7 separate regions of the Homo sapiens genome follow, and regions 1, 2, 3, 5, 6 and 7 are each linked to region 4. The links are contacts of gene promoters, found by promoter capture Hi-C in blood cells and fetal thymus (Javierre and others, 2016). All regions are on one chromosome and are shown on one strand. The core of a region is centred on a gene start or on the middle of the fragment in contact, and the rest is flanking DNA. Distances in the headings are between cores, read along the strand shown. Region 1 overlaps TP53BP2 (tumor protein p53 binding protein 2). Region 2 overlaps LBR (lamin B receptor). Region 3 overlaps TP53BP2 (tumor protein p53 binding protein 2). Region 4 holds the start of WDR26 (WD repeat domain 26). Region 5 holds the start of LOC105373041 (a long non-coding RNA gene). Region 6 overlaps CAPN2 (calpain 2). Region 7 holds the start of LOC105373281 (a long non-coding RNA gene).

Region 1 (3,535 bases), core at 1,009-3,508, 610 kb before region 4:
CAATACAAACAGTGGGAATGGCTATCACCAATGACTCTAAGGTGGGAATGAGCTTAGCATATTCGAGAAATATTTTAAAAGCTGCAGGAAGAAGCAGAGAAGAAAATGGTACCAGATAAGAGCAAAGACAAAGAATCTACAGAACTTCACAACCTAATATTAAAAGTTTGGATTTTATTCTAAGTGGAGGAGAAGTCGCTAGTTTTAAGCAGGAAAGTGAAATTATCTAATTTTCATTTTCAAAAGATCCCTTGGGCTTCTTCATGTGATTGTTCTAATCTGGTTCCTATGTAAACAGAAAAGAAAGTAATTCGGAGACTGCAGAAGACCTTCTAGAACATCCAACTGTAGAAAAGTTAACCAAAGATGAATAAAAGGACTTGCCTGAAAAGAAGTGGGGGCTCAGCTGAAGTTAGCTATCATGAATGGCATGAACTCAATTAACACAGTGTGTGACTTGCTCTGGGGATATCTGGCATCCCCAGAGGTGAAAAAGGAAACCAGCAGGAGTTCATCCAGCCTGTGTAGGAACAAGGCAGAAATGATGAAAAATTACTCCCACATCTACCACCTCCTATGGAGCCAAAAAGAAACCAGGCTATCCCATTTTAGAGCTCCAAAGAACCATACAGAAGGATTGATTTCAAGGCTTACAATAATGCCCACGAGTTCACCACTGCTGTCTGCCACTACAGTTCCTCGACACTGAGTAGCTTCCTCTAAAAACCTACAGAAATTGAGAGAAGGCAAACCAGTTAGGATGCCTCAAATTTCTAATTAAGTAAAGCTTACACATACAAAGACACTGTTGAGCACCATCCACTGGACCACAACAGCCCAGATGACCTTTTGTATTTTATATTGTGGTGTCTCCATTTTATTGGAGAAAAAGAAAACCGAAAAAGACTTCATGTATCATACCAAAGCTGGATCAGGAACACTATTTCTGCCGGACGTGCTATTCTCCAGTTTCTCCCCGGAGAAACATGAGCATTCACACAGTGCCACGTCTACAAACCAACATTAATAGAAGACAGAAGAACTAAAGCACGAGGCTGTCAGCGTCTCTCACCAGAGCCACACCACACTTCAGCCAAATGGCAATCACTCTCGCCGGGTTCTTTGCACAGATCCACCACGTCTCTGCATATTGTTTCTGGAGTAACTGGAACTTCTGTGAAGTGCTGCTCATTGTTACTGAGATACACGGTAAGAAACATCTAAAAATTAAGAGAGAAACACATGGTTACTGGTACTGTCTGCCTAATGTGGTATTCACCTTAAATTCCTTTCTCCAAACAAAATCTCAGTTGGAAGTGCAAACGTACAACAGAACAGTCTGGCTGTCACCCGGCCAAAGGTGAGGTGTGGACTGGGGGTTGAGGGAGACCTGGAGCCCAGCCCCTACCATGGGGCAGTAGCTCTAGAACCCTTGGTGACCCTAGAATACAGTCACATCAGTTCAAATTAAATCTGTTTTTGCCAGTTTTATTCATGTTGTTTGCCAAATACTTATATATGCTGGACCCATACTACAAATATATCTTCCTGTCAATCCTGTAAAGGTTGATGCGACAACCTCATCCATATATACTTATTTATGCACAGTCTCTTTTTTGGAAGGACACGTAAGAATGTAACACGCTGCTTCTGAAGTGGAAGCAGGAGGGAACAGAGCTTGTGGGGCAGCTCTGTATAAACCTAATCTTTATATAATGTACATATATTACCTATTCAAAAAATTGTACTTTTTTTTTTTTTGGAGACAGAGTCTCACTCCATCTCCCAGGCTGGAGCACAGTGGCATGATCTCGGCTCACTGCAACATCCGCCTCCCGAGTTCAAGTGATTCTCCTGTCTCAGCCTCCCGAGTAGCTGGGATTACAGGCGCATGCCATATCACACCACACCACGCCATGCCACATCTGGCTAATTTTTGTATTTTTAGTAGAGACGGGGTTTCATTATGTTGGCCAGGCTGGTTTCAAACTCCTGACTTCAGGTGATCCACCCACCTCGGCCTCCCAAAGTGCTGGGATTACAGGCGTGAGCCACTGCGCCCGGCCAAAAAATTGTACTTCTAAAATGTTTTAAGCAAATTAAATACCTACTTTGAAGTACAAGATTTCATTAACAAAGTATAAGTAGAAATGAGTAGCTGTTATGTTAACACCTACCTGACCTTGTATATAAACACTGAGACCAACAGAAGGTTTACATTTAAAACTCACTAATAGGCTGGGTGTAGTGGCCTACACCTGTAATCCCAACACTTTGGGAGGCCAAGGCGGGAAGATCATGTGAGTCCAGGAGTTTAAGACCAGTCTGGGCAACGAAGCAACACTCCGTTTCTACCAAAAATTAAAAGAAAATCAGCCAGACATGGTGGCACATGCCTGTGGTCCCTGCTACTTGGAAGGCTGAGTGGGGAAGACTGCTTGAGTCCAGGAGGTCGCAGCTGTAGTGAGAAGTGACTGCACCACTGCACTCCAGCCTGGGTGAGACCCTGACTCAAAAAAAAAAAAACAACAAAAAAACCTAACAATCTTGACAATCTTTCTCCTAGTAAAAAAAGACACTGTATCTTAGAAACACTGCTACTAAAGAATTAAATTTTTCACACCTATTAAATTACAAAAAAAAAAATCTTGTTAATTTCCAATGCTGAAGAAACGAAGTGAAACAGGAAACAAGTTTTCGACAGTGATGCAAATTAGTAAGGCTCTATGTTTATTCAATTCAATGAGTAACTCCATGCAAGTCAGTATGTATCAGGATTAAAAAATAATAATTTGAAAGCGTTACCTCACAGTGAGAATACATCCTGTGAAAATAATTCCAATCAAAGAAAGAGAATGCATAACCTATGGAACATAAACTTGAGGGACAAGTTTAGTCTTTTAAAATCATTAATGAAACTATGCTAAGCACTGGGAAAAGTTTGGGTTTTAAGACTGCAAAAAAGCAGAATAAGTAGGATATACCCTATGACCACAATGACAGGAGGACATCACACAGCAATTGGAGGGCCTACCAACAGTCACACAACTCCCCTTCCAACTTAAATGTCTCTGCCCATTACCCCCAAGTGGAGAAAGCTGCATTAAGATGTTGCTTGGGAAAAGGCAGCACCGGATTAGGGATGATGATGGAAACTGGCTAAGACATCAGACTCGGTGCCTCAAGAATTGGTCAGAGAAAGAGGAGATATACATGAGAGAAAGAGCGGACCCTTGCACTCAAGCCAGTCCAAGCCTCCACATTCTGCAACCAAAGCTGTTAACTCACATGAACAGGTATAACAGAGGGTAATCCAGAAAAATTAAAATAGTGAACACTGTTGAAACAATTTTTTAATGGAAAAATAAAAAAACACTGTAGACTTTCCCAGTATGAGCTCAAAAGCTCTCAAGCTAATTATCTCAGGCTTTTCACATTTTGACTACATAAAGGTACACAGTTCTAGAGTTCAACTTAGCCAACAAGGCAGCACTCAAAATTATTACACAAAAATCATAAAGCCTTGACTAAATCA
Region 2 (3,897 bases), core at 275-2,774, 990 kb after region 4:
CCACACTAGAAGAGGATAACAAAGGCAGGAACTGCTACCATTAACTCTAAAATCAGCACGGGAAATGTTAGGATCTGAGAATGGATCAGATGAAGCCAATGGAAAATGCTTTCATAATGATCCATCTTTCATGAGACAAATGCAGCCTTTCCATTCCTGTTCTTTGAAGGTATTTCCATGAAACGAATGTATCTAAACCAATTAGCTGTACTTATTTCCAACACCATATGCAAGAAGGGTAATAATTAACATGGATTAAAACTGAGACGACAGGACAAAATAAATAAGCACACAGACCAAAAAAAAAAAAACAGTACCACAGTTTCACTCTGAACAAAACACATAAGCAGATCTTGAAAATAAAACATGAGCTTGGATGACTGGGAACTGTTTCACTGTGTCCCCACCTACTCCGAATCTCCTTATGTTGCTTCTAGGGATGTAGACAAATTACGCCCCAGGCCAAGTCCCTCACCCCAATTTTTGTGTGGCCTTCCTACTAAGAATGGCTTTTACATTCTTAAATGATTACAAACAAAATCAAAAGAACAGTATTTCCTGAAGTGTGAAAATTATCCAAAATTCAAATTTCACTGTCCATAAAGTTGTACTGGAACACTGCCATGTCTGCTCCCTTCCATACTGCCTGGAGCCGCTCCCATAAAGTCTAAAATATTTACTTTCTGTGCTTTATTCCTGGTCTAGAGCACTCGAAGTGTCATCCTCAGCCATGGGTCCTAGAAATGCTCGTTACTAATCTGTGCAAGTACCAAAATTGAGAAATAGGTGTATGGAAATGTTTATAGCATTTTGACAAAGTAATCTCATATCTATCGAATCTGATAGTAAAACTGTGAGTCGTCTATTGTGTATGTCTTTATTTTTCTAGTAACTCATTTTTATGGCATTTTATATAAATGTTTGTATACTACGGATCAGATATCTTAAAACCCAGGCCCTCACCAGACAGGTTGAAAAGCCCTGGGCTAGACTCGAATCTAATTAATGTCACTCTCCTGATTAAATCCTTGGTGTTCAGGATGAAGCCCAAACCCTTGGGCATGGAATATAAAAGCCCCCCCAGCCTGGCTCCTGCTTAGCCCTCCCCTACCACCCCCTTCCAGCACTTGGCTGACTGTGTCCCCCAGACCCCTGACTTTGGCATACTGCCCTCTCTGCAGAAACAGCCCCATCAACTGCTGTTTTTCCTGTTTGTTCTCAGCACTTGGCTAGGTGTCACTGCCTCTGAAAGCCTCCCCTGAAGCCCAGGGCTCTTCTCTACCCTTGATACACTCAACACCACCCACAGCAAACTCCAGACACAGAACGTAGTAAACCCAGGGGACCAACAGATGCAAATGGCTGTCTTTCCCAGTAAGTGTGAGCTTCTTGGGAACAAGGACTATGCCTCATTCATACATTCCCAGAGCCAAAAACAGTATGTGACCCAAAGCAAGAGCTCAATCCTCTGCCTTCAAACCGAGCTGAACTGACTATCCTGAGCTTAGAAACCATACTTAGAGTTATTTCCCACTTACTGTAAACACACTCTGATAAACCAAAGGAGCTCTTACCTTAATATCATTCTCTTTCAATTCAAGCTCTGTTCCATCTTTATACTTCACAGTGTAAAGCTGGGAGGTGCTGTCGTGGCTCAGAATTTCTACTTCATAATAAAGTGAACTCCCAGGCCATCGACCTCTTACCACTTCACCATCGGCAAATTTCCTACTTGGCATTTTCTATAATTAACCTGAATAGTTTTAAAGAAAAAAATTTGAGTCAATACATACACATTTATGTATTCGTCTTTTTCCACAGGCTGATCACTAAAATACAACTTTCCAGAATTGACTGGTCAGGATTTTAGGGCCAGAAAGGCTACATTCAATCTCATTTGGAATCATTTGAGAGGATGATTTAGCCACTGCGTTATCTATGTGACACTAAAGATTAATTATAACAATGTATATAGGCGCCATAAGTTCACACTATGTAAAATGTTACCCACCTACCGTGATCACAGTTCTCGCTAATCAAAAAATGAGGCACAATCTCACAAAGAACACATTTTCTCATTTGTAAATTTGCGTATCAATTTACAATGGCTTTAAAAATGCATTTAATTGTATTTTTAACAAATTGCCTTTATTAAAAACAGCAAACTATAAACCAGACTGGGAAAATCAAGGATGTACAATTAACATGACTATAACCCAACAATAGGAAGAAAAATAATTCCAAGTCTGTAATGAATAAATTTGGGGGTTATTTAGCTTTCAACTCTTACAGCTAAAGTACAAATGCATACCAAGTAACTCTGCCAACCACCCACCTAAGCCAGGGTGGTTGCCTTCATCCAAGCTCACTTCTCTCAAGCCTACAGCAGCCATCAACCCCCAATTATAACATTCTTTTCCTCTGATTCAAAACATGGCCCACAAGCCCCACAATACTCTAGGAATCCACAAGCAATCTGCAAGAACTGCCACTTACGTGAGGCCTGTCTGCCACCCTTTTTGAAATATCAATTGATAGCTGGGTACTTCCAGCTGCCAGACAGTAATGCCGCTCCATCGGCTGACCAGCGGAATCACATTTCCACACAACAAAACCAGGGCTGCCGACCTTCCCCAGTACCACATGAACTAGCTGGGGCCACGTCCAAGGGGCAGCCAGTAGGACAGATATGAGCTGTCTCCCAAATCACCTTCATTTCACCAACTAAGCACTTCTTGATGTATTGTCCAAGCCTATCAATGTACATTCCTCACTGGCTCCTGTTAAGAGCTGATGATACAATAAAAGCAACATTTAGGAACCTTTGAAGACTCTGGAATTAAGGAGAAAGTTGAATTACCTACCCCAAGGGAGTAGTGGGAGAGTGGGGGGGGAGGCGGGGTGAGGGAGGCCTTTCTTAACCACCACATTTTTTCACTGTTAATCGTCTGTGAAAAAACTTAACAAGCTCTACTAGTTTACAGAGATGGCAGCTAGGTTGGTAGATGAAAGAAAACACAAGTACTTATCTGGTGATTAGAGGATGTCAGTCAATTAACACATTAGGTAAGAGAGGCAGCTTTCTTCCCTACACCTACCTGAGATTGGGCATCACTGGGGTAATGAATGGGTTTGGGCTTGGAGTAGTGGGGAGGAGCCCACAAGTTTTCGGGATGAAGTCAGGCCTGGCTGAGTCACCCGAGGGGCACTTAGGGAGCAGGGGGGCAGTGAACACCTCTGCATGAGCAGGGGCATAAAAACGGAAGGTGACAACATCCAGCTTTGCCTATTTCAACATTTAGCTCAGAGCCTCCAAGTACAAAGAAAGAGGAAGGAAATGTACCCTCCTTCTCTCTTCTCTTGAGCCCCCTCCTCCTCCCTAGGCCCCCCAAAATCAAACCACTCTTACTAGTACTAGCTCTCCTACACTGGTCAGCCAGAGTTAAAAGAAGGCAATTATGTCTTCCTACAGGAAGATGCTCAAGTTGCAAAAAACTCTTTATAAACTTTTGAAACACAAGCCCTTCAGGACGCAGGGGCTACTTGAGGTTTTAAAAGACCCTTGAACAGTTTCTGCGTGTTCTTAAAAACTTATTTACTGGCATCTTTCCATTGCACTTACACACCACATACACAGTATCTGTGTAATATAAACGCAGGCCAGTGCCAAAAAGATTCTTATCAATTATTCTGGGTTAAACAAGTTAACACATATGGTGGATACCTGTTAGGTCTCTAAAGCTTACTTTTTAAAAGAAGAATTAAGATTTGCTTGAAAAACAAACAAAATGAACCGGCATTCTTCTTAGAAGACCATTATCTTATACACAAATGTTCCAAAAGATGAAGCCAACAACATGATGTGCACCCCCACTTTACACAAGATCCACACACAAT
Region 3 (3,833 bases), core at 177-2,676, 640 kb before region 4:
CTCCACCTACTTCCAGGATGGGAATGAGATGACTGTTACATGAACACATGTTAATTCCTCAAAAATAGATACCACATTTCTCCAGCTAGATTACAAGCAGCTCAAGGACATAACTGACATACTTCTTTGTCTTCCAACAGCACTATGACAACTGCTTATAAACCGATTCCCACAACTGAAGTTTGACTGGAGTTTAAAAGAAAATCTTACCATCCATCACTATCAGCAGCATTTACATTTACACCAAACTGTACCAGGAACTTAACGATTTCTGTGTGGCCTGCACACACAGCATTGTGAAGAGCCGTGATGCCTTCATCATTGGGGAGGCTTGGGTCATCAACCTATATCAAGAAGAAGGGTGAGCATCACTCTAGTTTCTTGTCACCTGAACTGTCACTACTAACTGGCTCCTTTAGGGTCAAGAGGACAGAAATGGACTCTTGTGACACTTTTAAAAATCATAATTAAAACCTATAGGAGCCAAGAAAACTATACCAAGAACAATTCTAGAAATAAGACAGACAGAAAAACCACATTAAGTAGGCAGTCACTATAAAAAGGTTTTTTTTAAAAAAAGGAAGTACCAGAAACTATATCCTTATAGTCATTTTTGTTTATTTATCCTCCCAGCTTCTCACCACAAATTAGTTTCTAAGTAGAAGTTGCATTTGCTATGGAAAGCAAAAAAAAAAAAAGGTCAACTAAAAATATTTTAAATAGTAGGCTTCTAAAAGTAGAGACCGCATCTCTAACCTAATACAGTATAGTACAAATCCATACATGAACAATTTCTAAAGGGGAGTAATGATCTCTCTTAAGAAAGAAAAGTACTCTAGAGGACTCCAAGTGAAAACCGAACTTCCAAATGATGACAATTCCATAGTCATACCTTTAAAACAGCATAGCCTATTCTAAAGCGTGCCCAAGAGTTCCTGAACACAACCCCACAATGCCTAAAAGGAAAACAATTTTAAAATACAATTTCTCTACAGTCGCTTTCTAATTAGAGCTTTAAAACAAAATACAAGGTCATATTTTAAAAATTTACTAATTATACTCTAGCCTGGATGACAGAGCGAGACTCTGACTCAAAAAAAAAAATTTACTAATTATAATCATACCTCATAAATAATTCTCTGTACAAGGTCAAATTCTCCCTCCAAAGACGAATCTAGCAGTAAAGCAAGGGGGTTGAATTTCACCCTCATTCCATGAGCGATACGCTCTGAGCCAGTTTTACGCAAGTTTGTCCTTTTACCCTGCAAAGAAAATGGGTGGAAAATTTAGGATCCTCGTCTATGCAAGAGAACAACAGCAGCAAATGGGAAGGAATGACTTCTCACCTAAATTAGTGAGAGGCACTTTAACAATATAGATTTGGCACATTTTATTGAAGTATAACATTATTCAGAAAAGTATACGAATCTGACATGCAGCGTAATGAACTTTCACAAAGTGAACAAATACCATGGAGCAAAGTTGGAGGAACATAACTTTATAAAATCTAACATAATTACGTTTGGGTTATATGTTATAGTATGAATTAAACTAAGAGTATAATCAGAAGTGGCAAATAGGCTAGCGTTCTGTCAAGTATCAGAATTAGCCAAGACTGGTCTTTAGACTGCCTATCTAATACAGTACAGCAAACTCCACTCTCTTAAAGTGAGCAACAGCACAGCCCACAACTACAACAGCTAACCTATATTGAATGATTATTCATTAACCCTCACAAAAACCCTATGATCCCTAGTTTACAGATAAGGAAACCAAGGCACACAGCCGGCAAATGGCAGAGCTGGGACGCAAATCCAGGTAAGCTGGCTTCTTTAAAGTCTGCCATCTTAACCATTTCACACCAGAATGCCTCCTCGGGGGAAAGCATATAATTAAGGTAAATAATACAGATTATTAGTCTGTCTTAGGTATAACAAGGATAAATCCTACCAGCTTAAACTTTTAATGAATCGGACTTAAAAAAAAAAAGGCAAAATTTTAAAGACTAGATCCAGTATCCTGTAAAACAGGTTTCTTAAACACACCCAACAAAGTAGAGACGTTTACTGTTGTGAGGTGTGATATATGTACTCCACATAATTCTTTCATTTTATCTCAGATGTGGAAAATTGCCAAGTTTTAAAAAACATTAAGCGACAATACATTTCACAATGTGCAATGACTAAAATGTTGCTCTCTGAATGTTATCTGACTGTGGTTAATACAAGTCATAAGCAGTACAGTGTAATGACACTTGCCGATCCCACTGTTAAAGAATGTACGAGATAGTTGCTTCTATTTTACTTAAATCGAGAAGGAAAAGGTAAGACACCTTCCTAGGAAGAGAACAGCAGAATCTTAAAAAGAAAGTATAATACTTTTACCAATTCTAGTTTTCCTTTTTTCTCCTTGAAAATGTGGATTATTTTGACACAGCAACAAAAAGGCCAGAAAATAACAAGTGGCTGTAACGTGGATTGGTTTTGGCCAATGTGGAATAAAACGTCCTTCTTTTCTTATGTTTAAAACTCAAAGAGAATCAAGCCTCAGAACTTACGAGGCACAGGGTTGTTTAAAAACTGTTAACCTCTATTTTAAAACTTTTTTTTCTAGCTTCAAATGTTTAGTACATAAAACTTTTAAGCAAACATTTACTGTAACCAATTGTTAAAAATAACTGTGGACAATTATTATCTTTGAATACTATCATATCTAAAAGATAATAAGGAATCAAACATGCAAAGTACATTTAAAAAAATTCTTTTAATGCTATTTTGCTTTTCACCAGGTTTTAAATTCATAGTTCAGCATCCTACTTCCTTCCGTGCTTACTGAAGCAAAGTGGCTTCAAATTAAACTATGAAAAAGCAGACTTCATTCAGACATTCTGGGATTTTTATTTTCTCTCACCTATGTCAAAGTGAGAGGATGGAAGCTTAAATTTCAAACAAAAGCTTACTATCTGGAAGGAGTGTAGAAGGTGCACTCAAGCCAAAACATACAAAATCTTAGAATAACTTTCGTATGTTAAAGTACAAAGAAATCTTAGGGATCACCATATTAGCCAGAGATTTTCAGACTTCGTTGAAGGGGAGGAAGAGGCTGAAGAGGGGCCCCTCAGCCCAGTTACCCCTCCCTGCCCTCACTCCATCCAGAACCCTTCCAATTTTACCACTGTTGTAAGTTTGAGGTTTCACCTAACATTTCATTTTTTAAAATTTCACTGCTAGAAAATTTTTAAAAAGATTGACATCATCAATGAGAGAAGTTATACCATCTGCCTGATTTCACACAGCTAAGCTAGTAATCAAAAGTTTCAAACCCAGGTCTTTTGAGTCCCAGTCGGGTGCTGCTTCCCTAATATGTCACATCAGCTAGAGAAGAAACAGCAAATGCAGTGTTTATAGGGATAAGAACAAAACTCTGTTTCTTTCACAAATAAATGGGTTCTCTCTAAAACAGAAAAATGTTCTTTATATTGAATAAACTGCATTATGAAAACATTTATAAGATCCACTCTGTGCCAAGGGAATCGTAAAATAAAAATGCAAACTGGAGAAGATGAATGTGACCACCAAGAAAATCGTAACAAAGTAAAGGACTCCGGAAAAGGCTATGAGATAGTACATTACTTACAGGAGGCAGAGAGACCTGCCCGGTGATTTCAGGCGGGCGCATGCTCACCGAGTCTTCTCCGGGCCCTTCAGGCTCCCCAGATGGGTATGGTGGGGGTGGGTATGGAGGGTACTCCTCCAGGTACACATCAAGCACATGTGGAGCCTCTGGATTTGGTTCTTCTGGGTTATTCTGGAGATTTGGGCTGTTGTCTGGGA
Region 4 (3,556 bases), core at 969-3,468:
TTCAGCTTTAAAACTTAATTTTTAGCTAAACAGTGCAATGATCTGCCTGAAAACCGAAATACTTGTGCCACTTTTAAAAAGTTCTGTTCTCCTCCCCACTCCCCAAGAAATCCATAAATGCAAAAGTACACATCGGCTAGCCTGAGAGCTTAATCTACACTCTGAATGTAGGAAACTGACTGCTGCTGCACGTCCTCCCCCCTTCATTTCATTCTGACTCCGTCTCTTGCACCTCCTTCATCAGGCACTCCCACCAATCCTACCTTCCACCCCCTTAGTTTTTCTTTGTGTGTATACAAAACGGTGGTTTTTGTCCAAGGTCGCTGTCTACCTTCACCCTATGTTAGGTATACAAGGCCACCTAAATTGTATTTGAAAACAAATGGTTCACCAGATCAGATGTCCCCTTTTCAGAGGCGATCATCTTCTTGGTATTAAACTGAGATTTCAGACTAGTTAGGGTTAGGCCTCTTGTACACACACACAAGGGCCTTTAAACGACATCAACACTGTATCTTCATTATTCGCATCAGATTTATTCAACAACCTCTTTCCAAATGATCCCAGCCCCTCCGTTCCCATAAACACTTGTAGGTGATTGTCTTTCCTGATTGGTAGTTTGCTTGGGTTGTTGTCTGCCACGGTTGGGGGTGGGGAGGTGTCCCACAAAGATGCCTCCAAGATACACTTGAAAAACAAATCCTCCAAGGTTCATTATTTCCACCAGCTCTAATCCACCCCTCCCCCAACACATACAGAAACACACTCCCGCATCTGTCTTTATTGACAGACAATTAAGCTCTGAAGGTGCGTGGGGAGAAGTCATTCTTTGGGTTTCTCCTAACCCTTCCTAACCCCTCAACGCCTGTCTCGTCTCACAATTTGTCAGACTGATTGATTTTCCCCTATTTCCTTTCAGGTCCGCTCCTCCTCCCCGGTCGCCCTGAGCCGCGTCCTCCTGTGTACTGGGTCCTGCGTGCCCAGCACTCATTCTCTTTGACCGAGCTCTTTCAAGCCCCCCTCCCCCCTCCGCCCCTTCCCCTACCCCCCTGGAGCCTCCGTCCCTCGGTCTGTCCATCACCAGCTGGCGGTAAGGGATACTTACTTGAGCCCTAAGCCATTCAAGTGCTGTCCTATTAGCCTAATGACATCCTCATCTGACTGGGAGAGCCGCTTCTTCTTCTTGAGGCTGCTGCCCAGTTCTGGGGTGGCCAAGGAAGAGGAGGCGGCGGTGGTGGCGGAGGCAGCTGCGACGGTGGCTGAGGATGCGGCGGCCGCCCCGCCGGGAACCCCGTTATTGACATTCAGGCTGTTGCTATTGTTGCTGGCGGCGGAGGGGGCGGAAGGCAGGAGCCCATTGGCGTGGGCCAGGTCCCCCGCGGACGACGACGACGAGGGGGACGACTCCCCGTTCTGGGCCGACAAGCAGGCGAGTTCCGGGGTCTGTCCCTGGCCCCCGCCGCCCCCTCCTCCTCCACCGCCGCCGCCGCCACCTCCTCCTCCTCCTCCTGCCCCATTGGCCTGCATGATGCTGCCGCTGACCAGGCTGTGGCCGCTACTTCGGTGGGGGACAGCAGCGGCGGCGGGAGGGGCAGCAGCCGGGGGAAGTCCCACCACTACCACCACGGAGGAGGAGGAGGAGGAGGAGGACGAGGACGACGAGGACGGAGGGGAGAGGCCTGCTCTGCCTGCCGAAGCCCCGGGCTCTCCTACTCCCTCCGCCGCCGAGGCTCGGGGTTTCTTCCGCGGGGGCGGGGAGGCTCCGCCGGTGTCCGAGTCGGAGGAGGAGGAAGCGGAGGCCAGAGTTTCCTCGCCGAGAGAGGCCGTGGTGGGAAGCCGGTGGGGCGAGGCGGGGGAGGGGAGGCGGGGGCCGGGGAGAGGGTCGGGGTGAGGGGGGCCGGGGAGGCGGGGAGGGGGTCAGGGTAGGAGGGTGAGGGTGAGGGTGAGAGGAGGGGGAGGAGGAGGAGGGGGAGAAGGAGGATCCGGGCCCTTTCCCCCCCCCCTCCCGGAGGCAGCTCGGGGTGCGCGGCCCGGGGGTCGCGCCGGGGGGCGCCGCGGGGCGGCTGCGGGGGCGCGGGGCCCGCCGCTGGGCTGAGCCCCGGCAGTGGCTGCGGCGGCGGCGGCGGCGGGCGGCAGCGGAGGCAGCTGCCGCCTCTGTCCTCGGATCCGCTCCGCTCTGCTCCCTGGTGTGTTGATTCTTCCCCCAGCTGCTGCCTAATGGAGTCCAGGCGCTCGCGTCACAGGAAATGCCTATACTGCCCTCCTCACTCACTTCCGGTGGCAGGTATGGAACCTATAGGGGGCCTGTCACCCAGCACGTGCATCGGGGGCTGTCCCGGGGGTCAGGGGAGGGAGGCCAGCGGGCCGGCGGGGTCCGCCCCGACCCCATCCACGACCCCGACTCCTATCCGATCCTATCCCCGGCCCCGCTCGGGCCTTTCCCCTTGCGCCCTGGCTCGGCTGGCTCGACGAGCAGTAAGTTCGTAGCCGCCCTCCGAAGCCGGGCGTGCATGGGATGGCAGAGTTGGCGTGCGTGCGTGAGTCCACCAGTGTGGCATGGGCATGTAAGGTGCGCGGAGGGACTGCACCTTCTCCATCAGGTGCAGAAGGTGAGGATGGGGCAGGGGGCTAGGAGCTTCGACAGGCAGGAACTTCCAGGCACAGGGCTGTGGTAGGCCCCTCTCAATGGTAACCAGGACCGAAATCGGGTTTCACAACCTACTTGTTTTAGGGTGGAAAAACTTGAATTTCCACAGCCAAGTGCCACACAGTTGCTGTACCCGGGGCCATCCCGGGAGCTGTGAGATAATGAGCCGGTGAGACTCTGCTCCACCCTGGGAAGGGGAGTTAGTCTAGAGGAGCATATCTTATGGGGACAAGAAGTCACAAAAAGGCTGTGTGGTGTGTAGAGAAGGGGAGGGACTCTGCTGTTGAGGCTTCACTCTTTTTTAGCACTTGCCCAGCACCTCCTTCTCTCTTCCAGCTGCCTCTTGAGTCACTGCCCAGTTTAGGGAGCAGTAACATAAACCAAACAGTTGCCTCCAAAATATGCATTCTGAGAAGGATTCAGGCACCCATTCAGATCCAGGCTTGAAATTTTTACGTGGCATGTGAGCCTTCTGTGTCATCATGACTTACCAATTTATGTGAATGTAGAAATGCAGCAACAAAGACTGGGCTGAATCTTAATCATTGGCAAATGGTGTGCATTATCCCCAAACAATTATTTTCATGTATGTGGTTGATAGCATCTATACTCAATATGTATAAAGATTTTCTCAGAAATTTAAAGTCTTTCTCTGAAGTAGTTTTCCTGTGGGGAGGGGAAAAAAAACACCTTAGTTTCTAATTAATACATCATACATCGCTGATATTTATTATAGTAATAACTGAAAGTAATTTTGAGGCCTTTGGAGACAGTTGTTTTTAAATTTGGAAATACAATAAAAAATGATGCTGATGAGAAATTAGTAAAGAATCCTGAGGTTTATGGATCCTCAGACAGGAAGAAGTAAGAGGAAGGTCAATGCAGGATCTTACAGGGATTTGGTTTTGT
Region 5 (3,786 bases), core at 527-3,026, 660 kb before region 4:
ACTCTGGAAGGAGAGAGAACTACTATGAGTTTACCAGGAAAGCTTCTGCTCACATATATCCAGGAAGAATCTGATCTTCAAGACGATTGAGAGCTAAACAAAAAATCAAACAGCAGCAGCATGGTTAACAACATGAAGCAACTGTGACCATGAGAACAGAAACAGGCAAGAAAACACTTATGTGTCAGCAAAGGACACAGGCAGGGTGAAGGTGGACAGTTCAAAAACAAAAGAAACAGCAGAAGGTACTGGCTTTGCAAAATCAAACCAGTCTCACAGAAGAGCAGCCAAGGGACAAAAGCAATTATACCTCATTTAAATCACCACATTAGTTTCATAGCCTGTGAGCGCAGCTAAATGGAACAATCTAATGCTTAGCAATGAGTTTGTTTGTTCATGTAACTTCAGGTTTCAAGATGCCCTGTCAACTCCACCAAGTCATCGTTGCTCGGTTTGCAGATGACCAGCTCATCATCGATTTTGATAATTTTGTTCGGTGTTTGGTTCGGCTGGAAACGCTATTCAGTAAGTGGATATTTGGGGAATGACTCATTTCAGTTCTCTTGGTATTAAAGTGGCCTGCCTTTCACCTCGGTGAAATCATCTAAACTAGAGACATGTCTTCCAGGAGTTGAGAATGAAATTCCCTCTTTACTAATTTGAGGGTGAGGAAGAAAGCATGTATGGTGGTCAGTGAAGTCAGTTGCTGAACTGAAAAGAGGATAATGTGATCTGTTTCAGCTCACTCACTTGTGACACCCTCTTTTTCTCCCTCCACAGAGATATTTAAGCAGCTGGATCCCGAGAATACTGGAACAATAGAGCTCGACCTTATCTCTGTGAGTCAGCAGGCCCCGCCTTGCTTCTAAGGGGATGGGGGAGGCATGGGGCGGAAAGGGCTGTTACTTGAGTGATCTGCTTTTTCAAGTTTTGCTTTAAAGAGCTCTTGGTCTGTCGGGGCCAGGCCTGTAACCGGTTGTAAGATCCCACAATGCACTTTTACTTGCAGTTGTTTTCCAACCACCTATTCTCAAGTCCAAAATGCACGCCTGGCTCCCTCTTCTCATGAGCTTTGACTTGAGTGTAGCTCAAGGTTAAACTAAGGAGTGGCTGCAGGATCATGCTTAGAAAAATGAACTCCTGATTAGCATGCAAGGGAGAACATGTTTATATAAAGAAATCCTTCAGCTGAAATTCAAGTTGGGTTTTGGGAAGATCCATCATTCTTAGAGTGGATCTACTTAAAATACTTTAAGCAAATTAGTTTTCTCTACTCCCTCCCCGTTTAAGATAAAACCAATACTAGTAAATACGTTTGCCATTTATTATTGTTATTGCACTCATGTGTCTGGAACCCTAGCAATACACATCTCTGAAATGATCATCAATCTGAATTAAGTGGGTATGCTAATTTCACAAAAAGCAAAGCGTAAAATGTTCTCGTGTCATCCCAATGACAGGAAGTTCTCTCACTGAAAGAAAGAAGCCAGGTGGGGTATACTTCCATTATCACCTGGCTCCAGTCAGCATTTCCTCTATACTCAGGGAAGGCCACAGAGGGCCGGGCGAAGTGGCTGACACTGGGTGAGAATGGCAGTTGTCAGTCCTGTCCGTGTAACAGAGGAGTGAAGTGGTGAGGAGGGCAGGTCTAAGGCACTGGCAGCTCTTTTCCATGGATTTTGAACTCTGGAGGAAGGCAGCAACTAAATAACTGTCTCATTCTGCTATTATGCATTGTATTAGCAAAGTGAAAATATAGTCTATCTGGTTACAAATAACACTAACTTGCTTAAAACTTTACATATCCTAGGAAATATCTCTACCCCTAGATTGCAATGTAGAGTCAACCCCATCTCTAAAAAAATAAAAAATTAGGCTGGCCGCAGTGGTTCATGCCTGTAATCCCATCACTTTGGGAGGCCAAGGCAGGTGGATCACCTGAGGTCAGGAGCTCAAGACCAGCCTGGCCAACATGGTGAAACCGCGTCTCTACTGAAAATACAAAAATTAGGGCTGGGCGCGGTGGCTCACATCTATAATCCTAGCACTTTGGGAGGCCAAGGCGGGCGAATCACCTGAGGTTGGGAGTTCGAGACCAGCCTGAGTAACATGGAGAAACCCCATCTCTACTAAAAATACAAAATTAGCCAGGCGTGGTGACACATGCCTGTTAATCCCAGCTACTCGGGAGGCTGAAGCGAAAGGATTGCTTGAACCCGGGAGGCGGAGGTTGCGGCGAGCTGAGATTGCACCATTGTACTCCATCCAGCCTGGGCAACAAGAGCAAAACTGCATCTAAAAAAAAAATTAGCTGGGCGTGGTGGCAGGTGCCTGTAAATACGTTACTCTGGAGGCTGAGGCAGGAGAATCACATGAACCTAGGAGGTAGAGGTTGCAGTGAACTGAGATGGTGCCACTGCACTCCAGCCTAGGCAACAAGAGCAAAACCCTGTCTCAGAAAAAAATAAATAAAAAATAAAAAAATGAGCCAGGCATGGTGGTGCGTGCCTGTAGACCCAGCTACCCAGGAGGCTAAGGTGGGAGGAACACCTGAGCCCAGAAGTCAAGGCCGCAGTGAGCCATGATCTCCCCACTACATTCCATCTTGGGTGACAGAGCAAGGCCCTGTCTCAAAAAATTTAAAATGAAATAAATAGTAGAGTCAACACAACTGTGACACGAAACATGCCACATGTTAAGTTCTGGAAATCCTAGCCTGTCATTCTTGCTGGATATCCTATTCTACCCCAGCCACCCACCCCCACTCCAGGGTCCACCTGGCCTGCCTGCTCAGTCCACTCCCTCCGCATCTCCTCCGAGAAGCATCTTCTTACCCACTGGCTTTTCCTGCCACTCCTAAGCCTTACCTTTTGCAGGTTCCTGGAGATCCTCGCTTCTCGTAGTCTTTGCAAGGATGAGCCATGTTCAGAAGCTCTCCGTTCAGTCTGCAGGGATTTCAACCTTGGCTGCAGATTCCATCACATGGGGAGCTTTGCCAAAGTGCTGGTGTCCTGTCTGTATCCCAGACCAGTTGAATCAATCTGATTTAAAGTTTCCGTATCACTACAACTTAGAACCAATGCTGAACACCATTGGTTGCAGGGATATCCACATCCCAAACTAACTTCTGATGTGATACTCTGAGGCAGAGATGTGAAAATGCTAATTTCTGTTGTGTGAATTTCACTTTTCATGTGTGCAATCAACCCTGTAATATGATTCATGGCCACTTAATGCAAATCACACAGACTACTGACCTGTTAAAAGCTAGACTCTAGAAATCAGGTAAGAAAAATATGAGTTAGTGCACTGATATTGTAGCCCTCAATCAGCTTTTCCAGTACAAGTTTTTTGGAACAATCTACAGGTACTTAAATAGCCTTTAATTTTAAAAGTGGTCACTGAGCTGACTTTTTTTTTTCCTTCCTCACAGTGGCTCTGTTTCTCAGTACTTTGAAGTTATAACTAATCTGCCTGAAGACTTCTCATGATGGAAAATCAGCCAAGGACTAAGCTTCCATAGAAATACACTTTGTATCTGGACCTCAAAATTATGGGAACATTTACTTAAACGGATGATCATAGCTGAAAATAATGATACTGTCAATTTGAGATAGCAGAAGTTTCACACATCAAAGTAAAAGATTTGCATATCATTATACTAAATGCAAATGAGTCGCTTAACCCTTGACAAGGTCAAAGAAAGCTTTAAATCTGTAAATAGTATACACTTTTTACTTTTACACACTTTCCTGTTCATAGCAATATTAAATCAGGAAAAAAAAA
Region 6 (3,462 bases), core at 163-2,662, 710 kb before region 4:
GTAATCAGTAGGTGAGTTGCTGAAGACAAACTAAATATTCTTTCCAGCATTGCTTCAATCTAATCCAGCCGCAAGTATGAGTAAATACTGTAGGAAAGGAGAAAACATTGCATGTACGGGGTCAGGGCAGCATTGCTGGGATATTTGAGCCTGTGGGAGGGGAGCTTCAAGCTTCCCACTAGCATTGGGAGGAACACAGCAAAGGAGGAGAAGGGCCCTCCCTGCTTCTTGGAGAATGGTTCCACTGGCAGGCCATTCCGTCTGCTCAGCTTCCTAGCTCAGGTGCCTTTCCAAACCACACATCAGCAGGGAGACAGTGGGAACATCTCAGGTCCAGGGTACCTTGGGAACTGCAGAGCAGCTGGGTGGCCTGACACTGGCATTTCTCAGTGTTGGCTCCATTCTCTTGCTGGCACCCCCAGGTGGGAGACTCTGTTAGCAGGTGTATCTTACTATCCCTGGCTCCCTGGTATGCGTTACAGTTCAGACTCCCAAGCACAAGCTCCCTGTTTTGTCACACCTGTATCTAGTGTGTAACAATCCACCCCAAAACAAATGGCTTGAAACACAAGGCATTTTGTTCTCTCTCATGGTTCTGAAGGATGACGGGGCTGAGCTGGGCAACTCTCTCCCGCTCTCTCAAGTGGTTGCAATCAGATGGGGATGGGGACAGAGTCATCTGTAGGCCCCCTCAACCACATGTCTGGTGCCCGGGCTGAAGGGTGGATCAGCAGGGGTCCAGGGATCTCTGTCTCTTTTGTGGTCTCCCCATCACAGGGACTTGAAGGTAGCTGAACATCTTACAGCAGCTCATGTCCCAAGAGAAAGACCTGGGAGCTGTCTCATCTTTACGACCTAGGCTTGGAAGTCACATAGCATCACTTCTGCCATATCCTATTCATTGAGATCAATGAAGGCTCACCCAGGATCAAAGAGAAGGGACATGGAGCCCACTTCTAGATGGAGAGTGGCAGGGTTCTGGAAGAACATGTGAAACCAGAAACATTGTTGCCACCATTTTTGGAAGACACCACGATTCCTCCCCTTTGAATAATGGCCTTCTTGTCCTTTACCAGTAATAACCCAAGCTGCTTGGACATTAGCTCTTCATGGTTTGCGGGGTGGGGAGGATGTGTTTTCTGGGACTTCCCAAGGTACACAGTAGTGAAGGACTTCACAAGCTGGGCTGATGTGCCAGCTTCAGGACTCCACTCACCCCCAAGCGTTCTGAGATGCCCATGGGGCTCAGGAGCCCTGACTTGCACAAGCCAGCAACTGCCTTTCTGCTTCCATTCAGCCAGCTTTACTGGGCATCTGTTATAGGAAGAGCAGTGGGCTGAGACTTCAGCAAAAAAGACAAAAGCAAAACACAATCCCTTCTCTATACAAGGTTCTTCCCTTTCTGTGTCCAACCAGTCCCTCCATTCTCGGTCCTTAACTCATCACCAAGCCGCCATTTTCTTCTATTCCCCCATTACTCCAAGGCGGGCCTCAGTTCTCACCTGGAGTCTGGCTCAGGATGCCTACAGGTGGCCCCAGAATTGTAATGGCTTGACATGCAATTTTTCAGCTTTACAATGGCATGAAAGCAATACACATTTAGTAGAAACTGTACTTGAAGTACCCATACAACCATTCTGTTTTTCACTTTCAGTACAGTATTCAATAAATTACATTGAGTTGTTCAGCATTTTATTTTAAAACAGGCTTTGCCTCCTTAGATAATTTTGCCCAACTGTAGGCTACTGTAAGTGTTCTGAGCACAATTAAGGTAGGCTAGGCTAAGCTATGGTGTTAGGCAGTGTCAACAAAATAGTCAAATTCTGTGAAATATTTAAAGAGTTTATTCTGAGCCAAATATGAGTGACCAAAGCCTGTGACAAAGCCCAAGGAGGTCCTGAGAACCTGTGCCCAAGGTGGTTGGTTTACAGCTTGGTTTTATACATTTTAGGAGGACATAAGTTACAGGCAGACATCAATCCAGAAAGGCGGGACAACTTGAAGTGGATGGGGAAGGCACAGGGGCTGGAGGGGGCTCCGAGTCACAGGTGGATTCAGAGATTTTTCTGATTGGCAGTTAATTGAAAGCATTAAGTTACTATCTAAAGACCTGGAATCAAGGCCGGGTGCGGTGGCTCACACCTGTAATTCCAGCACTTTGGGAGGCCAAGGCGGGTGGATCACCTGAGGTCAGGAGTTCGAGCCTGGCCTGGCCAACATGGTGAAACCTCGCCTCTACTAAAAATGCAAAAATTAACTGGGCATGGCGGTGTATGCCTGTAGTCCCAGCTACTCAGAGGCTGAGGCAGGAGAATCGCTTGAACCCAGAAAGTGAAGGTTGCAGTGAGCCAGGATTGCACCACTGCACTCCAGCCTAGGAGACAAGAGCAAGACTCGCTCCCAAAAAACCAAAAAAAAAAAAAAAAAAAAAAAAACGAAAACCTGAAATCAGTTGAAAAGTGTGCCTGGGTTGAGATAAGAAGTTGTTAGAGACCAAGGTTTTTATTATGTAGATGAAGTCTCACAGAGGGCCACTCTCAAAGGCAATAGATGGCAAATGTTTTCTATTCAGACCTTTAAAAGGTGCTACTAGATGCTCAGCTAATCTCTTCAGGATCAGAAAAAGACCTGAAGGGAAGGTGATTCTCTACATCAAGCTTGTCCAACCCTCGTGCTGCCCAGGATGGCTTTGAATGTGGCCCAACACAAATTTGTGAACTTTCTCAAAATATTATGAGATTTTTTTTTTTTTTAGCTCATCATCTATCATTAGTGTCAGTGTATTTTATGTGTGGCCCAAGACAATTCTTCTTCTTCCAGTGTGGCCCAGGGAAGCCAAAAGATTGGACACCCCTGCTATAGAATGTAGATTTTCCCACAAGAGACAGCTTTCAGAGACATTTCAAAATCTGTCAGAAAAATATATTTTGGGCTAAAATACTTTGATTTCTTTCAGGGCCTGCTATCTGTCATGTGATGCTCTACTAGAGTGTGGTTGGAATTTGGTATCTTATTGCTAGGAAGAGTCTGTTTTGTGAGTCTTAAGATCTCTGTTTTCAGTTAAGGCTGGTCAGCTGTGCCTGAATTCCTAAAGGAGGAGGATAAAATGAGGCATGACGGACCTCCCTTCCCATCGTGGCCTGAACTTGTTTTTCAGGTTTACCTTGGAATCCCCTTGACTAAGGGGGCACCCATTCAGTTAGTTAAGGGGCTTAGACTTTGATTTTTAGTTTACAGTAGGCTGAGGTGTATTAAATGCATTTTCGACTTGCAATATTTTCAACTTCTGATGGATTTGTTCAGATGTAACCCCGTTGTAAGTTAAGGAGCATGTATACTTGTATCTAATCCACTTTGGGCATTGCTGCCAGAAAACCTGTCCTCAGGGAGCTATGGAAGTAGTGGAGGCAAATTATTAAATGGATGGATTAATTCCAAGTTCAGATCATGTTGGGAGTCAGC
Region 7 (3,820 bases), core at 1,216-3,715, 730 kb before region 4:
CTACTTTGGCTTTCTTACCAGGTGAACTTGAGCATATATCTGGGCAGTTCTAGAATTTCGATGTGGGAGGGACTTAGGGATGAAAAAAATAAAATGTGGATGGTAGATGGCATTTGGGGCAGGGGATTGGAGGCTTGTCTTGTAGCTGTTTCTGCTTAGTAAGCTCCCTGTTCTGGCTTAGAGACATATTTATTGGGGAGCTTGCTGATGGGAATTATGGACGGGGCCAACTCCTCTCCCAGCACCCTGTGGTGCTGACATCTGAGGTGATCACTTCCCATGGAGTGGAGAAAAGCATGCTGCTCTATATTTGTTCCCTACAACAGGAAGCGTGAAAACAGGATTTGCTGCCACATGTCAAGTACTCATGTGCCTGTAGAAGAAAGGGGCCATTGCTGCTGATGATAACAATGATAGCATCTAAGGTTTTATAGTTCCCCAAATAATTTCACATACACTGTGATTTGATGCTTATAACAACCGTGTGAACTATGCAAAGTAGGTATTATTTCCCCATTTTAAGAGATGGGAGAATGGATAGTTAGTATTTTGAAAATTGCCAGACCCCACACTTATAAGACTACATGTATTATTAGTAAAATTACTACTAGGGGACCCCAGCTATGAAAACCTCTCTGGGAGATAGCACTGGTGGGTGAGGGGCAGCAGCTTCGGCTCTTGCCTCCTGGCAAGGGTGGGATGTAATACCCTAAGCTCCAACAGACTGGGGAAAGAGAAGGGGCTTAGAAAACTGTCTGGGCTGCTGGATTTCTTTCCGGAGTTTCCCTCTCTCCTTCTACTGTCAGCACGTCCCATCTTTTGCAACACCAGGGAGAAGCCTTTCCATGCCTCTTCAGCTCTTGGAATCCCTCCAGAAGCCCCCTCCCTCCTGAGTGGCATCTAACAGGCCTGTCCAATACTCATGCTACAGCTATGAGGAAAGAATAAACCCTGCAGCTGCTTCAGAAGAGAAAGAAATCTCTTTTCAAATGAAACCGTTTTTTGCAGCCCTGTGGAATTCATATTCTCTGTGATCTCCTTTGGATTCAAATCACGGACCTGAAAGAGGGAGGGGAAGAAAACAGGTTCTTTTCCTCTGCCTGGGCCTGCCGTTCCCTCTGCCCTCCTACACTGGGTATGGACAGACCCCAAGGGACCATGGTCTAGGTGTTGGCAGCCAGGCTGGCTCTACAACACAACATGTCAGCTGCTCTGCTGGGCCTCTGTTTACTCATCCATTAAATGAGGAGATAAGATCTCCCTTGACTGGCTGTGAAGATTAAGTGCACAAATATGTGTAAAGTGCACAAATATGTCAAATAAAAACTGAGACTGACACGTGGAGGTGCAAAATTAAAAAGGAAGCTTTGGTTAGTATCTCCAGAACCTGGCTAGGCACGGTGGCTCACATCTGTAATCTCAGCGCTTTGGGAGGCCGAGATGGGTGGATCACCTGAGGTCAGGAGTTCAAGACCAGCCTGGACAACATGGCGAAACCCCGTCTCTATTAAAAATACAAAAATTAGCTGGGCATGGCAGTGAGCCCCTGTAATCCCAGCTACTCAAGAGGCTGAGGCAGGAGAATTGCTTGAACCCGGGAGGCGGAGGTTGCAGTGAGCCGAGATCACGCCACTGCACTCCAGCCTGGGTGACAGAGTGAGACTCCACCTCAAAAAAAAAAAAAAAAAAATCCAGAACCTGCAGATTGTGCCTCTGATGCATCTCAAACATCCAGGGCCAGGGAGAAAATAATCTAAAGAAAAATACTACTGAAAAAGATTCCATTGCCATGGCCCTCTGAGACACACACATTCTTATTCTCTTATTTTCTCTCTCTCTCTCTCTTCTTCTCTCTCTCTCTCTTTCTATCTCTCTCTCTCACTCCCTCTCTCATTTACTCACAAGGTCAGTGGCCCAGACCCAGGCAGTTCTGGATAATCCCAGCTGTTTCTGACTCACCACCATCCTCAGGGCTGGCTGACTCACTCCAGGAAGGTTTTCCACCATGAAGTGTTTGTCTATGTCCTTGTGTTCCCGTGAAAAGGATTGTGTGGTCAGAGAAAGAGAAGACTTTGCTGGGTCAGTGAGATAGCATAGTGTGAGAGGCTTTGGGAAGTAGAAAAAGCAACATTAACTCAGGTTTAAAAACTAGACTTTGTCCAAATGGTTGGGGAAAGTAGTCATTGTATGTGTTTGCAATTAAATTTGGGTGGCATAGGACAGCCTAAAGCCCTTTGTAAGCAGAGCTCTATGTGCGCAGCGATCCCTAGAAGGCTGGCAAGGGGAGTGGCCAGGGCTGCACCAAAGAGGGTGTTGCCTAGCTGGGGAAGAGGAACTTCAGGTGAGCCAGGAGGCTCTTCTGCTCCCAGGCTGTGCAAAGCTTCTGAGTTGACTGGAATGATAGGTCTGATCTGCCCATTTGTTGCTAAAATGACTTAGGAGGGAAATGACCTCCACCTGCCTGGGAGGAGTCACTTCCTCCAGAGATGAGCTGTCCTTGAGGAGATCAGTGGGAGGAGAAGCCTGCGCTCTGCCCCACTGGGCAGAAGGACAAGCTTTCTCCCAAGAGCCTCGAGCCCAGAAGAAGTCGGGGTGGGGCCAATGGAAATCAGACAGTGGAACAAATGAACAGCTTCCAGGACAGGGCTGTCGCTTTCCTCTGTTTTCAATTGTGATGGCTTCATGAAACCCTTGCACCAGAAACCCATGAGCTAGAAATGAATGCCTGTATCCCCATCTCTGGACTCAGAGTCCAGAGTGCCAACCATTACACAATGGAACCTGTGTCCCCGCCTTATTCAAGAGTAAAGAAAGCAAAGCCTGGTGGTGGACGGTGGTACCTGCCCATCAGGCAGCATGCCCAGACTTGCAAACCAGAGATGGAGGATGTCAAATAAAAACAAAACCATGGGAGACTGAGGCAGGAGAATCACTTGAACCGGGAGGCGGAGGTTGCAATGAGCCAAGATCGCGCCATTGCACTCCAGCCCGGGCAACAAGAGTGAAACTCTGTTTAAAAAAAAAAAAAAATCCAGACTTTTATAAAGGGACACTTCAATAGAAAGAAAGACTATTGCAGGCCAGGCGCAGTGGCTCACACCTGTAATCCTAGCACTTTGGGAGGCCAAAGCAGGTGGATCACCTGAGGTCAGGAGTTCAAGACCAGCCTGGCCAACATGAGGAAACCCCGTCTCTACTAAAAATACAAAAAAATTAGCTGCACATGGCGGCTGGTACCTGTAATCCCAGCTACTCAGGAGGCTGAGGCAGGAGAATCACTTGCACCCGGGAGGCGAAGGTTGCAGTGAGTGGAGATTGCACCACTGCACTCCAGCCTGGGCAACAAGAGTGAAACAAGAAAGAAAGAGCGAAAGAGAGAGAGAGAGAGAAAGAGAGAAGGAGAGAAGGAGAGGAAGGGAAGAAGGGAGGGAGAAAGAAAGAAAAAATAGAGAAAAAGAGAAGGAAGGAAGGAAAAGAAAGAAAAGAGAAGAGAAAAGAAAAAAAAAGAGAGAAAGACAATTCCAATTCAGAGAATCTGCAAGCAGCTCAAAATCAAACAGAAAAAGATTCTTCTTTTCTAGGGTAAAGGAGGAGCAAGTGGAGATAAGCAGACTCTTGGGAGGGGAAGCTGGACAAGTGAGGGGAAATGACCAGTGGGAGCTGACAGGAAAAGGGTCTTGCTGTGTTCAGTCAATTCCCAGGAGAAGCTGGGCAGGGAAGTGACTTGGCAGGGACACTCCACTTTGTTTGTGCTTGTTCAGGCTTGGGGGCAAGCAGCATTCAGGGATCTGTAGGAAAGAGAGAAGTCTGACCAAAGTTT

Evidence for each region. The method cuts DNA at HindIII sites, captures the fragments that hold promoters and counts their contacts. A CHiCAGO score of 5 or more calls a contact.
Region 1: a contact is called between a fragment that was not itself captured here and the fragment with the promoter of WDR26 in region 4, in 4 of 17 cell types (naive B cells, total B cells, neutrophils and 1 more). The highest score is 8.7, in naive B cells.
Region 2: a fragment that was not itself captured here is called in contact with the fragment with the promoter of WDR26 in region 4 in 2 of 17 cell types (neutrophils and erythroblasts); the score reaches 6.1 in neutrophils.
Region 3: a fragment that was not itself captured here is called in contact with the fragment with the promoter of WDR26 in region 4 in 7 of 17 cell types (neutrophils, total B cells, total CD8 T cells and 4 more); the score reaches 9.3 in neutrophils.
Region 5: a fragment that was not itself captured here is called in contact with the fragment with the promoter of WDR26 in region 4 in 2 of 17 cell types (monocytes and total B cells); the score reaches 6.3 in monocytes.
Region 6: a contact is called between a fragment that was not itself captured here and the fragment with the promoter of WDR26 in region 4, in 2 of 17 cell types (naive B cells and monocytes). The highest score is 6.6, in naive B cells.
Region 7: a fragment that was not itself captured here is called in contact with the fragment with the promoter of WDR26 in region 4 in 2 of 17 cell types (total B cells and naive B cells); the score reaches 6.6 in total B cells.

What each region holds. Positions count from the first base shown.
Region 1 is chr1:223,820,148-223,823,682 of GRCh38, forward strand. TP53BP2 (tumor protein p53 binding protein 2) reads right to left here. Exons shown (of 18, transcript NM_001031685.3): 2 at 1,073-1,220. Among named protein-coding and RNA genes, the nearest start is that of TP53BP2, 24 kb to the right of the region's middle. The HindIII fragment of the contact is 2,946 bases long and covers 786-3,535 here.
Region 2 is chr1:225,422,337-225,426,233 of GRCh38, forward strand. It overlaps LBR (lamin B receptor), which reads right to left. Exons shown (of 14, transcript NM_002296.4): 2 at 1,575-1,753. The coding sequence starts at 1,739. Among named protein-coding and RNA genes, the nearest start is that of LBR, 3.8 kb to the right of the region's middle. The HindIII fragment of the contact is 4,429 bases long and covers 1-3,739 here.
Region 3 is chr1:223,792,179-223,796,011 of GRCh38, forward strand. TP53BP2 (tumor protein p53 binding protein 2) reads right to left here. Exons shown (of 18, transcript NM_001031685.3): 13 at 3,637-3,833; 14 at 1,125-1,262; 15 at 211-344. Among named protein-coding and RNA genes, the nearest start is that of TP53BP2, 52 kb to the right of the region's middle. The HindIII fragment of the contact is 3,013 bases long and covers 1-2,933 here.
Region 4 is chr1:224,432,579-224,436,134 of GRCh38, forward strand. WDR26 (WD repeat domain 26) reads right to left here and starts at 2,219. Exons shown (of 14, transcript NM_001379403.1): 1 at 1,106-2,219. The coding sequence starts at 1,827. It also overlaps a transcript of CNIH3 not described here. RefSeq lists a silencer at 2,198-2,597 and an enhancer at 2,938-3,127. The HindIII fragment of the contact is 13,558 bases long and covers 1-3,556 here.
Region 5 is chr1:223,771,401-223,775,186 of GRCh38, forward strand. It overlaps CAPN2 (calpain 2), which reads left to right. Exons shown (of 21, transcript NM_001748.5): 19 at 409-525; 20 at 781-839; 21 at 3,434-3,786. The coding sequence ends at 3,457. LOC105373041 (a long non-coding RNA gene) reads right to left here and starts at 3,434. Exons shown (of 2, transcript XR_949167.3): 1 at 2,868-3,434; 2 at 1,311-1,686. RefSeq lists an enhancer at 845-1,500. The HindIII fragment of the contact is 3,472 bases long and covers 41-3,512 here.
Region 6 is chr1:223,727,601-223,731,062 of GRCh38, forward strand. All of the region lies in intron 2 of CAPN2 (calpain 2), which reads left to right. Among named protein-coding and RNA genes, the nearest start is that of CAPN2, 17 kb to the left of the region's middle. RefSeq lists an enhancer at 1-551. The HindIII fragment of the contact is 2,486 bases long and covers 170-2,655 here.
Region 7 is chr1:223,705,409-223,709,228 of GRCh38, forward strand. It overlaps LOC105373281 (a long non-coding RNA gene), which reads right to left and starts at 2,242. Exons shown (of 3, transcript XR_949164.2): 1 at 1,960-2,242. It also overlaps a transcript of CAPN2 not described here. RefSeq lists enhancers at 1,251-2,450, 2,451-2,950. The HindIII fragment of the contact is 175 bases long and covers 2,379-2,553 here.